Regions from separate parts of the Homo sapiens genome. Here regions 2 and 3 are each linked to region 1. Evidence: promoter capture Hi-C in human tissues and cell types (Jung and others, 2019). All regions are on one chromosome and are shown on one strand. The core of a region is centred on a gene start or on the middle of the fragment in contact, and the rest is flanking DNA. Distances in the headings are between cores, read along the strand shown. Region 1 holds the start of GDF6 (growth differentiation factor 6). Region 2 overlaps CFAP418-AS1 (CFAP418 antisense RNA 1). Region 3 overlaps CFAP418-AS1 (CFAP418 antisense RNA 1).

Region 1 (3,419 bases), core at 852-3,351:
AAGCACCTTCAAGTATAAGGTCTCAGAACTTGACAACCATGAAACCCAAACTAGGGGACATAAGTAGAATTGGGATAGGGCCAGAAGGGGCATCCACGGAGACCAAGGGGAGAGCAGCCAAGCTCAATAGCCCAGTGATTAAGAGCCCAGACTCTGGAGTAGTGTGACCCTGGGCCTCACTTTCCCTATCTGTAAAATAGGAATAATACAGCACTTATTTCAGGATTGCTGTGAAGATTAAGTAAAATAATATTGGCGAAGGGCTTCAAACCATGACTGACACACAAGTTCTCTGTGGGTGCTTGCCATTACCTGGAGGAGGCCAGTGTCCAGGGTGGAGGGCATATCCCAGACCTTAAGGAAGTTAAAGGATGAGGGGAGCAGCGCAGCAAAACTCCCTCCCCCTGCAGGCTGTCATGTGAGTGGTCCCTGCAGGACAGAAGAGGTGATGAAAAAGCAAAAGGAAGAAGGGGTTAGAAAGTGAGAGGGAGGAGATTGGAGAGACTGGGAACACACACAGAAAGTAGCATGGCGGAGAAAGAAGCCACCTGAGATCAAGTGAAACCATAAAGAGAAGAAAAAAGCCAGAACTGAAATAGAGAAGTTGGGCCAGGAATGACTGTCTATGCTGTAGTGGGAAGAATCTTGGGCTTGGGGTGGGAGCCTGGGTTCTGTCCCTTGCTGCATAACCTCTTGGCAGAGTGGCCTTGGAAAAGTCACTTATTTCCATTGAGTCTTTTTTTTTTCCATCCGTGAAGGTGAAAATAGTCAACGCCAACCTCACAAAGCTGTTGGCACGATTAAAGGAGGGTACTTTATGGTTGGTGCCTGAGCACCCAATCAGTACTGAGGGAAACTCTTCTGCCCATAGCAGTCCAGGGCAGAGCACTGTGGCAGACAGAAGCAGCGCTACGCCGCATCGCCTTTCAGCGTGCAGGCCCAGGAATGAGCGAGGCAGTGGGCGGGGAAGACAGGCACGGGGAATCTGGGGACAGATAAAGGAAACTCGTGATGGGGCGAGGCTGGGCTGAAGAGAAACAGATTGGGGTAGAGCTGCAAAGGGAGGGGTCCACTGGAAGGCGAGGGGGGAGGCCGGGAAGAGAGAGGGTGGGAAGGCAGTGTGAGATGGGAGGGCAGTGTGAGAAGAAAAGCAGGCTGGGGAAGAGGGATTGGAATGCAGAAGGAACTTGGGGAAGGAGGAAGTCCTGCAGGCGGGAGGGAAAGAAGAGAGGGAAAATGGGGATGCAGTGGAGGCGGGGGGCAGGCCGCGAGAGGGAGAGGATCCCGGGAGCAGACGAAGAAGTGGAGCAGCTAAAGTCTGCGTCAGAAGAGGTTGGGGACTGCGAGAGGAGAGGCTGGGGCCTGCAGGGGAGCGCAGCAGCTTTTAGCATCGATCCAAACTCTAAAGACTCGTGGCCTTTGCCTGACCTCGAGGGTCGGGAATAGACGCCTGTCTTTGTGGAGAGCGATACCCAACCGAGAAAATGGGGCTGTTCCGAGCTGGGCCCTGCGCCTGGCCCAGGGCGAGGCTTCTCTGGCTCCGGGCTGGCCCCTGAGGGGCGCAAACGGCAGGCCTGGCGGTTGGGGCCGAGGAGGGAGGGTACCACCGCCCCGAGGCAGCACGCAGCCTGCAGCAGAGGCGCCTGCTCCAAGCTGTCTCTTGGGGGCGCCGCCGCCGCTTCCCTCCTCCGGGGCCGCTCGCTCCCAGGAAAGTGGAGGCGGCTGGCGAGGACCGAGAGCCGGGGCCGCGCTGCGGAGGGACCACACCTCCGGGAGTTCGAGGGGGACCCTGGCGCGGCGGGCCAGCCTTTGCTCCCCGGCCACGGGCCGGCAGCGCCCGCCTTCCCCCGGTCAGCGCTTGCGGCCCGCGCCGCGCGCACCGCCCGGCAACCCCGCGCGCGTCCCGCGGGGGCGCTGCGTCTTCCTGCCACACCGGCGCACCGCGGCCCCTCTCCCCCACACCTCCGGCCCGCACCACCCGGCTCTCCTCCCACCCTCCCCACCCCTCCTCTGCCCTCCCTCCCCATTCCTCCCCTCCCGGCGAGGGGCGGGAGGGGGCGTGGCGGGGCCGGGGTTTGTGTGGCTGGGACCCGGCTCCTCGCACTCCGAGTCCGCCCGAGGAGCCGGGCCCCGGCCGCTGTCCAGCCGCTCCGTGCCCCGCGCGTCCTGCGCCGCCGCCACCGCCTCCTGGGGAGACGCAGCCACTTGCCCGCCATGGATACTCCCAGGGTCCTGCTCTCGGCCGTCTTCCTCATCAGTTTTCTGTGGGATTTGCCCGGTTTCCAGCAGGCTTCCATCTCATCCTCCTCGTCGTCCGCCGAGCTGGGTTCCACCAAGGGCATGCGAAGCCGCAAGGAAGGCAAGATGCAGCGGGCGCCGCGCGACAGTGACGCGGGCCGGGAGGGCCAGGAACCACAGCCGCGGCCTCAGGACGAACCCCGGGCTCAGCAGCCCCGGGCGCAGGAGCCGCCAGGCAGGGGTCCGCGCGTGGTGCCCCACGAGTACATGCTGTCAATCTACAGGACTTACTCCATCGCTGAGAAGCTGGGCATCAATGCCAGCTTTTTCCAGTCTTCCAAGTCGGCTAATACGATCACCAGCTTTGTAGACAGGGGACTAGGTAAGTGGCAAAGAAAACGCTCGACTCCCCTCCCGCTGGAGCTCGGCAGCCAGGGAGCTGTTCCCGCTGGAGGCTACATTTGTGAATTCCCTTCCTGCTCTGGACACTTCCTTTTTACTTTTCTTAAATTGTTTTTCTCAAGCTCGAGTAAGTTTCTGAATGTGGCTGCGGATTCTATTCCAGTCTCTAAACCTCCCTTCCTTTCCCCCCCTTTCTTTCTCTCTCCCTTCTTTCCTTCTTCCTCTTTTGCAGAAGGCAGCGTGGTTGCCGCTTGTTGGTGGCTGGTGGGGGAAACGTGGAGGACGGGAGGCAGCAGGCGGATGAACCCGGCTGGAGAGGGGTCGGGATGGGGACTGATGGAATCGGTGTCTCGGGATACTGGGTTCGCAGTCCAAGGCCTGAGCTGCTGGGGCAGATCTAGGGCATGAGACAGCCTTGGAAAGCCCTGGGCAAAGCCGGCACTAGGGAGTCCCACAGTCTGAGGAACTAGTCCGCGAGCGGCGTCGGGCAGCCCCCTGGTCCTGGCGCCGCGCGGGTTTTCCGTTGGTCCCTGCGCTGGGTGGGATGGTCAGCCGGGCTGGAGCCCTGCGCCCTCCGGCTTTTTTGCTCCAGCGTGGTGCTCCCGGCTGCTCCGAGGCCTCAACACGAGTGGTTTCTGCAGATGCGGCGGCAGCAGTTGGGCGGGCCGGGACAGGGACGGCTAAGTTCGGAGGTTGTGGGTACTTAATACACAAAGGTACATGGGTATGCCCATCCACCTTTCTCAGCCAGGCGACGTTCCTCTCTCTACGCTATTCCT
Region 2 (3,342 bases), core at 799-3,298, 410 kb after region 1:
GTGAGGTTCCGCTTTTTCACTTTGGCTACCAGCAGTTTTGCAAGCTTGGAAGCAAGAAGAGGGCTAGTCAACTAAAAGCCCCCAAAACTGAGGAATGTGGTCCAAAGTGCTGCTTCGAGCAGTCCACATTTCTGATGCTCTGATCATTATTACTATTAGAGTGAGAGGCTTTCCTCAACAGACCAAAACTAAGGATCTTTCATCACTAGGCAGTCAGAATAGAGAACCAAAAGGACAAAGCAAAGCATCAATTAAAATCTCATCCCTCTGTCCAGGGTTTGTGATAAATACATCAATTTCTTGCTCTCTCCTTTGGGATCCAAGTCTTTGAAATAGCTTATGGCTGGGTGGAACTCCCTCTGGTAGGTGGATGAGTGTTCAATACATTTGTGATGCTGAGACATTTATCTTCATTGCCTTAATAATTAAGCATCTAAGTCAAACTTCTGGTTTGACTTCTGACCCCTGTGTTTATTGACATTCCCATTCAAACACTTAGTTTGAGCTCCTGATTAGTTTGAGACCAGCCTGGCCAACATGGTGAAACCCCATCTCTACTAAATATACAAAAATTAGCCTGTCATGGTGACATGAGCCTGTAATCCCACCTAATCGGGAGGCTGAGGCAGGAGAATCGCTTGAACTCAGGAGGCAAAGGTTGCAGTGAGCCAAGCTTGTGCCACTGTACTCCAGCCTGGGTGACTGAGAGAGACACTGACTCAAAAAAAGAAAAAAAAAAGGCTTGAATTAATACGACTAAGTTTGCCTCACATTCACATCTGCAGGCAGAGTTCCCTCCATAGAGAATGGGAAGTTTGTCCTAGAGATCAATTATTCAGATGTACAGCTTGTATTCTGGGGGTATTCTGTCATTCAAAAAATATTTGTTGAGCACCTACTATGTGCTGGGTACTATTCTGGACATAAGCAATACAATGAGGAGCAAAACAGATTCTCTGCTTTCATGAAGTTTAAAATCTAGTGGAGTAAATCAATATTAATCAAGTTAACATATCAACATATAATTAAAAACTGTGCAAGGGTCTTGGTGAGCAGAAATTCTTTCAATTTGTATTGTTGCAGAAGGGCCCTCTCTAATCAGACATTCATTATGTCTCTCTTACCTGTCCATGGCAACTTCTTGGAATACCCTTCTGCTTCTCTTTGTCTTCTCAGGAGTTTTTCATTGCTGGTACTTACTTACTTAGATGGTGTTTTTTATCAGACAGTGGCAGGAACCCTCCCTCTAAATACAGTGAAACAAAATCATCATTTGCCTCAGATGAGCATGGGCCAGGAGTTTTCCATTTCCCTTTTAGCCAGAGTACACAAGAGCACCTACTTATGAAGGCACTGAAAAATTGCTCTGCCCTCCTGGCAAGATACAAATGGAGAGACTGAGATGGAGAGATATCATAAGGCTTATTGTATGATGGCCTCAAGAGTTAGTTATTGGTACCAAATTCCAGAAAACTTGGACTGGAGCTTTAACTCAGCTAGACCACAAGAAGAGTTGGTAAGAGATTTCAAGCTTCTCCAGGGAAACAAAGATACATGGATCGGTTTTAGAGATGGGGTTGTCTCCCAAACAGTAATCAGATTCCTCTCTTGCATCCCACAATCTCGCAGGTGTAAACCACATGAACAAATATGTGCTTGGGGTGAGGGTAGGGGTGGTGGGGGAGGTGATGACAGTTTCGACTTCATAATGCATCATCTCAGGTGGCAGCTGTGCATCTGTTACATATTTTGAAACCTCCCTCTCATACCAGTAGAGCTATTTCAGCAGATAATATCTCGAATTGACTAAAGAAAAATCATATGTTACCCAATGTCCTGAAATGGCTCAAGAAGATGGATAAGGGGAAGGTGTTGGGGTTGAAACTTGTATTTTACCTCCTGACTCTTAAAATCATTGGGATGGCAGCTTTGATTCAGTCTTGGAAACTGGACTTAATTAGTGGGAGCCAGCCCTCTATGGGGGAGCTCTCGGACAGGCACTTTGGGTCCCTGCCTCCCCAAGCTCCCTCTCAAGGATAGGGATTTGAACAGTTGCAGCCCCTGGGGCCCCTACAAAATACTTCCAGCACACATGCGGCTAAAAGCGATAATCCCAACACGTTTTGCAGGAAGAAAAATTGTGCTGGGAACAGCGAGTCAAGCATTTGCTGAGTTTTAGTAGGAGGTGTGAAAAATATGTAACTCTACTCAGGGTCATTCCCCTTGGCCTCACTGCTAGCCACAGCGTGTGTGAGGGGCGGCAGAGGCAGCGCCAAGCTCCCATCCATCTTTCTGTGGCCCCATTAATCTCTTCTCTTCCTGAAAACCAACTTATCTTGCAGTTGGTTTAAAAACCTCCCAGCCCTGCACATAGGGGCTGCTGCAAGCGCTGATGGGCCTCTGTGCTAATTAGAAAAAGACGGTCCCTCTGGGAGGGACCCTTGCAGAAAGACGCCCCCTCTGGGCAGGCCAGTTAGTGAAGAGGCGCCTTCTTTCAGGCGAACTCAGGCCTGTGCTGGGGCTCACGGCTCAGCAATCAGAGTACATCCTGGATTTTAGGCCCCCAAAGATTTCCCTCAGCTGGGCCCCACTGTGTCCAGTGGCCGGCAACAAAGCATCCTTTGTGGCTCACAAAATCGACACTGACTAGTCTCCATAGTTGGAATGCGCTTGGAATCCTAACCAAGTTCTCTTGCTTACGCATGTATTCTTAATTCTCTGCATTTAACAAACACTGTGCAGGCAGAGTCCCCTCAGAGATATTGACAAACATCACCATGGGACAGATGAACTGATGGAAACAGGCAACAACATTGGTTTCATTGCACTGTCCTGTTCAAGGAAGTAATTACCGGCTCTTTAGACACAAATCTTGGACACAAACACTGCCTAGGTACTCTTTTCTTTTTTTTCTTTTCTTTCTTTCTGTCTTTCTTAGAGACAAGGTCTCACTCTGTTGTCCAAGCTGAGTGGAGTGGCACAATCACTGCTCACCGCAGTCTCAACCTCACGTGCTTAAGCAATTCTTCTGCCTCAGCCTCCTGAGTAGCTTGGGACTACAGGCATGCACCATGACGCCCAGATAATTTTTTATTTTTTGTGGAGATGACATCTCACTATATTGCCCGGGCTGGTCTTGAACTCCTGGACTCAAGTGATCCTTCTACTTTGGCCTCCCAAAATGCTGGGATTACAGGCGTGAGCCACCACACTTGGCCAGCCTAGGTACTCTTTCCTCCATGACTTTTTCTCCAACATTTTCTTTCCCTCTGATGAGTAGGCTGCAGGTTTAGTCTTATATTTCCTCTGATATTGGGAACAATTTTCTGTCTTGTTTCTCTT
Region 3 (3,519 bases), core at 207-2,706, 500 kb after region 1:
CTTATAAGAACACGTGTCATTGGATTTAGGGCCCAACCTAGTCCAGTATGACCTCATCTTAACTAATTGCATCTGTTAAGATCCTATTTACTAATAAGATCCTGTTCTGAGGTTACATGTAGACATGAATTTTGGGGGTACACCATTCAACACACTATAAGTAGATAACAGCAATAGCACTGGAATAGATCCTTAGGGGCCCTCTTATGTGCCCATTTTACACCTTAGTCATTGTATTGTGGGTCCATGAGCCAGGCATGCAGGAAGCATGTAGAAGCTGGAAAAGGCAAGAAGGACAAATTATCTCCTAGAGCCCTTGGAAGGAACGCAGTCCTGCTGACACCTTGATTTTAGCCCCATGAGACCCATCTCAGACTTCTGAGCTCCAGAGTCATAAGAATAAATCTGGATTATTTTAAGCTACTAAAATTTGTGGTAAATTGTTACAGCAGAAATAGTAAACTCACACAATAAAAAAACTTAAGCCAGTTGAGGTCCATTTTGCTGTCACTAAACTAAAAGAATCTTAACTAATACACTGCTGAAATCACATAATTTACAGGTAACAAATAAACCACCTACTGATTGATATCTTCTCCACTTTCCTCCCATGATGCTCTTTCAAAGATTTTGGCTAACGAAGGCTCTGCAGAATCATGAAGCAAATGAGAAAGATGATAGAGCTACCTTGGCGGTGAAGCAGATATATTGAGAAGGTAAGGAATTTACTGTATAGAAAAAAGAGTAGTTCATCCAAAGGCAGACAGGAGAAAAGAACAAGAAGCTGGGAAAGAAAGGGTATGTGAGGGGTGATAATACATCACTTTGAATGACATAAATGTTATGTCAGCATTGTAGAATAGTTTTAATAATAATCATTTCCCTTAGTGATATCATCACAACATTTTGGCAAAAAAGTCATAACTCCATCTCATCAATGAGCATTTTCAGTATCAAAGAGGTTAAGAAACTTGCTCAAGTATATAGATAGCTAACAAGGGACAGCTTAGATTCAATCACAGCCTAACCCCAAAGTCTGTAGACTTAACAACTTGTTATGCTGTCAACATAAACACATGTTCCCAAGCTTTCTAACCTCCAACCACTAGATTCTCACATATGCACACAGAGTTCAATGATAATGATGTATCTTTCCATGTTCTGTTCACTGAGTTGCGATTAAGGAAGCACATGTGCTTTAGGGAAGATAAACTTTGGCCAGTGGTTTGACCTCCTTCTTGCCTCCGTTCCCAGATTTGCTATGTATAGCTGTGTGGCCTTGAACAGGTCACTCCACCTGTCTGGATTTCTACCTGTTGTTCTCTCAGGAGAATGAACTTGGGGATTGTAAAACTCTTGCAAGTTGTCGTATCCTTGGTGTTTTCATCTAGCAAAGCTGAGGAATTTGAACACCTGGATGAAGTGTTTACATTTCCCAGAGTAGATAGTAGCTCCTGAACAGGGATATGATAAACCATCTGAAAAGATTAATCAGCAGTTGAGCATAAACATGAACAGGTAGATGCCAGAGGCAGGAAGATGACAGAGGAAGTCATTGGATTCCACTCATATTTTCTTCATTGAGATAATCACATGCGACAAAGAAAGCTTTCCACTGTAGCACCTCTGTATACCTGACGGCTCTCTCATTCTAGCAACTCAGAGTACAAACGTTTACATGCACTCAGGTGCTATGAGTATCTGGGAAAGGTTTCATGTTGAAACGCTGGCCTTTAGCCACCTGGGTGAGAAAGACTAAGCTGGCATTAGCACTGCCTATTGGCAGCCAGGATAAGTTCTCAGGTTGAAAGAGTGGGCCACAGGCAGGGTGGAGAAGGAAGGGAAAGTGGAGGGTGCAAAGGTAGATTCCTGGGAGCCATGAACAAAGGCGCCAAGGCAGGGAGCCAGGTATATCACTCCCACCTGTAAGGACATGGCAGGGAGACAGGGACACAGCATGGCAGGCATTCTCTCAGCTGCTGCTTCTGAGCCAAACCCTTCTTCTGTTTCGCAGATGAGAATAAAGACAACGTTGAAAACAGTCCAGGAAAATAAAAAGCCTGGACAAATAGGATAGTTTGCTGCTGTCCTTATTACTCTGCCATTGTCTTCATGATAATCAGTTCTTCATGGCTTCTTCATGCCTCTAATCAACAGACTTACTTGTGGACATACAAAACCAAGAATCTAGTCCAGTAAATTTGAGGGGCTTCTTGGTACCTCACCACAACTACCTTCTGTTAATTAATGTGCAAATCTTTGAAGAAATTATTTGAAACACTTGTAAAAGTTATGATTGGGAAAAATAAACAGTAAAAAAAAGGGAGGGAATTTTGAGTTTATGTTGAAGTCACTAACTACAATGAGATGAAAAAAATAAGTTAACCATTAAATAGGTGGGGGAAGCAGTGGGTATTTGGGTCGCCATGGATCAGCTATCAGCTATTGTCAGTCAAGAACCTCCAAGCTGATGATACACTGCGTGAGTTGACATTGTAAGTCTACAGAGTTGAGGTACTCTCACATTGGCCATTCCCTGGGTCAACGAAATCTCTGCAAAAAAAATATCTAACAAATATTTATTGAGTCCTTGCACAGTGCATGGCACTGTCATGGGAGCTGTGGGGCAATGCAAAGATTAAAAAACAGAAAACAAAAAACTTGTTCCTAGAACTCAAGAGATTTACAACTGTTGGAGATGATCTTTGCTTTCCCTAAGGAATTCACGTGTATTTTCTTTATGGGCATATATAGGAAACAGGTAATTATTATTTGTTTTGCTCTGACCACTAGAAACATTTAAGTTCACCTTTGATAAATGTCAGATCTTCTGGCCTACAAATCTGTTTTAATTTCCCCACCTGTCTCGTAGATTTTTTTTTAAATTTCAACTTTTATTTTAGATATAGGAGGTACATGTGCAGATTTGTTACATGAGAATAGTGAGTGATATTGAGGTTTGGAGTATGGATCCCATTACCCAGTTAGTGAGCATAGTACCCAACAGGTAGTTTTGGGTATATACCAACCTGTTTCCCTCCACCCTCTAGTAGGCCGCAGTTTCTAGTGTTCCAATATTTTTGTGTATATGTGCTCACTGTTCAGCTCCCTCTTATCAATGAGAACATGCAATTTTTAGTTTTCTGTTCCTGCATTCATTTGCTTAAGATTATAGCCTCCAGCCCCATCCATGTTACTGCAAAGGACATGATTCCATTATTTTTTATGGTTGTATATTGTTTCATGGTATAAATATCCCATATTTTCTTTATTCAGTCTACCACTGATGGGCACTTGGGTTGATTCCATGTCTTTGCTATTGTGAATAGCCTAGGAATGAACATACAACTTCAGGTGTCTTTCTGGTAGAATGATTTGTTTTCTTTTGGGTATATACCTAGTAATAAGATTGCTGGGTCTAACAGTAGCTCTGTTTTAAGTTCTTTGAGAAATTTCCAGACTTCTTTTCACAGTGGCTGGACTCATTTACATTCCCACCAACAATGTATAAGCATTCCT

What was found. The method cuts DNA at HindIII sites, captures the fragments that hold promoters and counts their contacts. A contact is called where the count stands out against the background at its distance.
Region 2: a fragment that was not itself captured here is called in contact with the fragment with the promoter of GDF6 in region 1 in 1 of the 25 tissues and cell types used here (mesenchymal stem cells).
Region 3: a contact is called between a fragment that was not itself captured here and the fragment with the promoter of GDF6 in region 1, in 1 of the 25 tissues and cell types used here (lymphoblastoid cells).

Annotation. Positions count from the first base shown.
Region 1 is chr8:96,159,488-96,162,906 of GRCh38, reverse strand. GDF6 (growth differentiation factor 6) reads left to right here and starts at 2,101. Exons shown (of 2, transcript NM_001001557.4): 1 at 2,101-2,620. The coding sequence starts at 2,215. The HindIII fragment of the contact is 22,921 bases long and covers 1-3,419 here.
Region 2 is chr8:95,751,391-95,754,732 of GRCh38, reverse strand. All of the region lies in intron 3 of CFAP418-AS1 (CFAP418 antisense RNA 1), which reads right to left. Among named protein-coding and RNA genes, the nearest start is that of GDF6, 410 kb to the left of the region's middle. The HindIII fragment of the contact is 3,378 bases long and covers 360-3,342 here.
Region 3 is chr8:95,657,263-95,660,781 of GRCh38, reverse strand. The region is part of intron 3 of CFAP418-AS1 (CFAP418 antisense RNA 1); the gene reads right to left. Among named protein-coding and RNA genes, the nearest start is that of TRS-AGA2-5, 390 kb to the right of the region's middle. The HindIII fragment of the contact is 4,595 bases long and covers 1-3,519 here.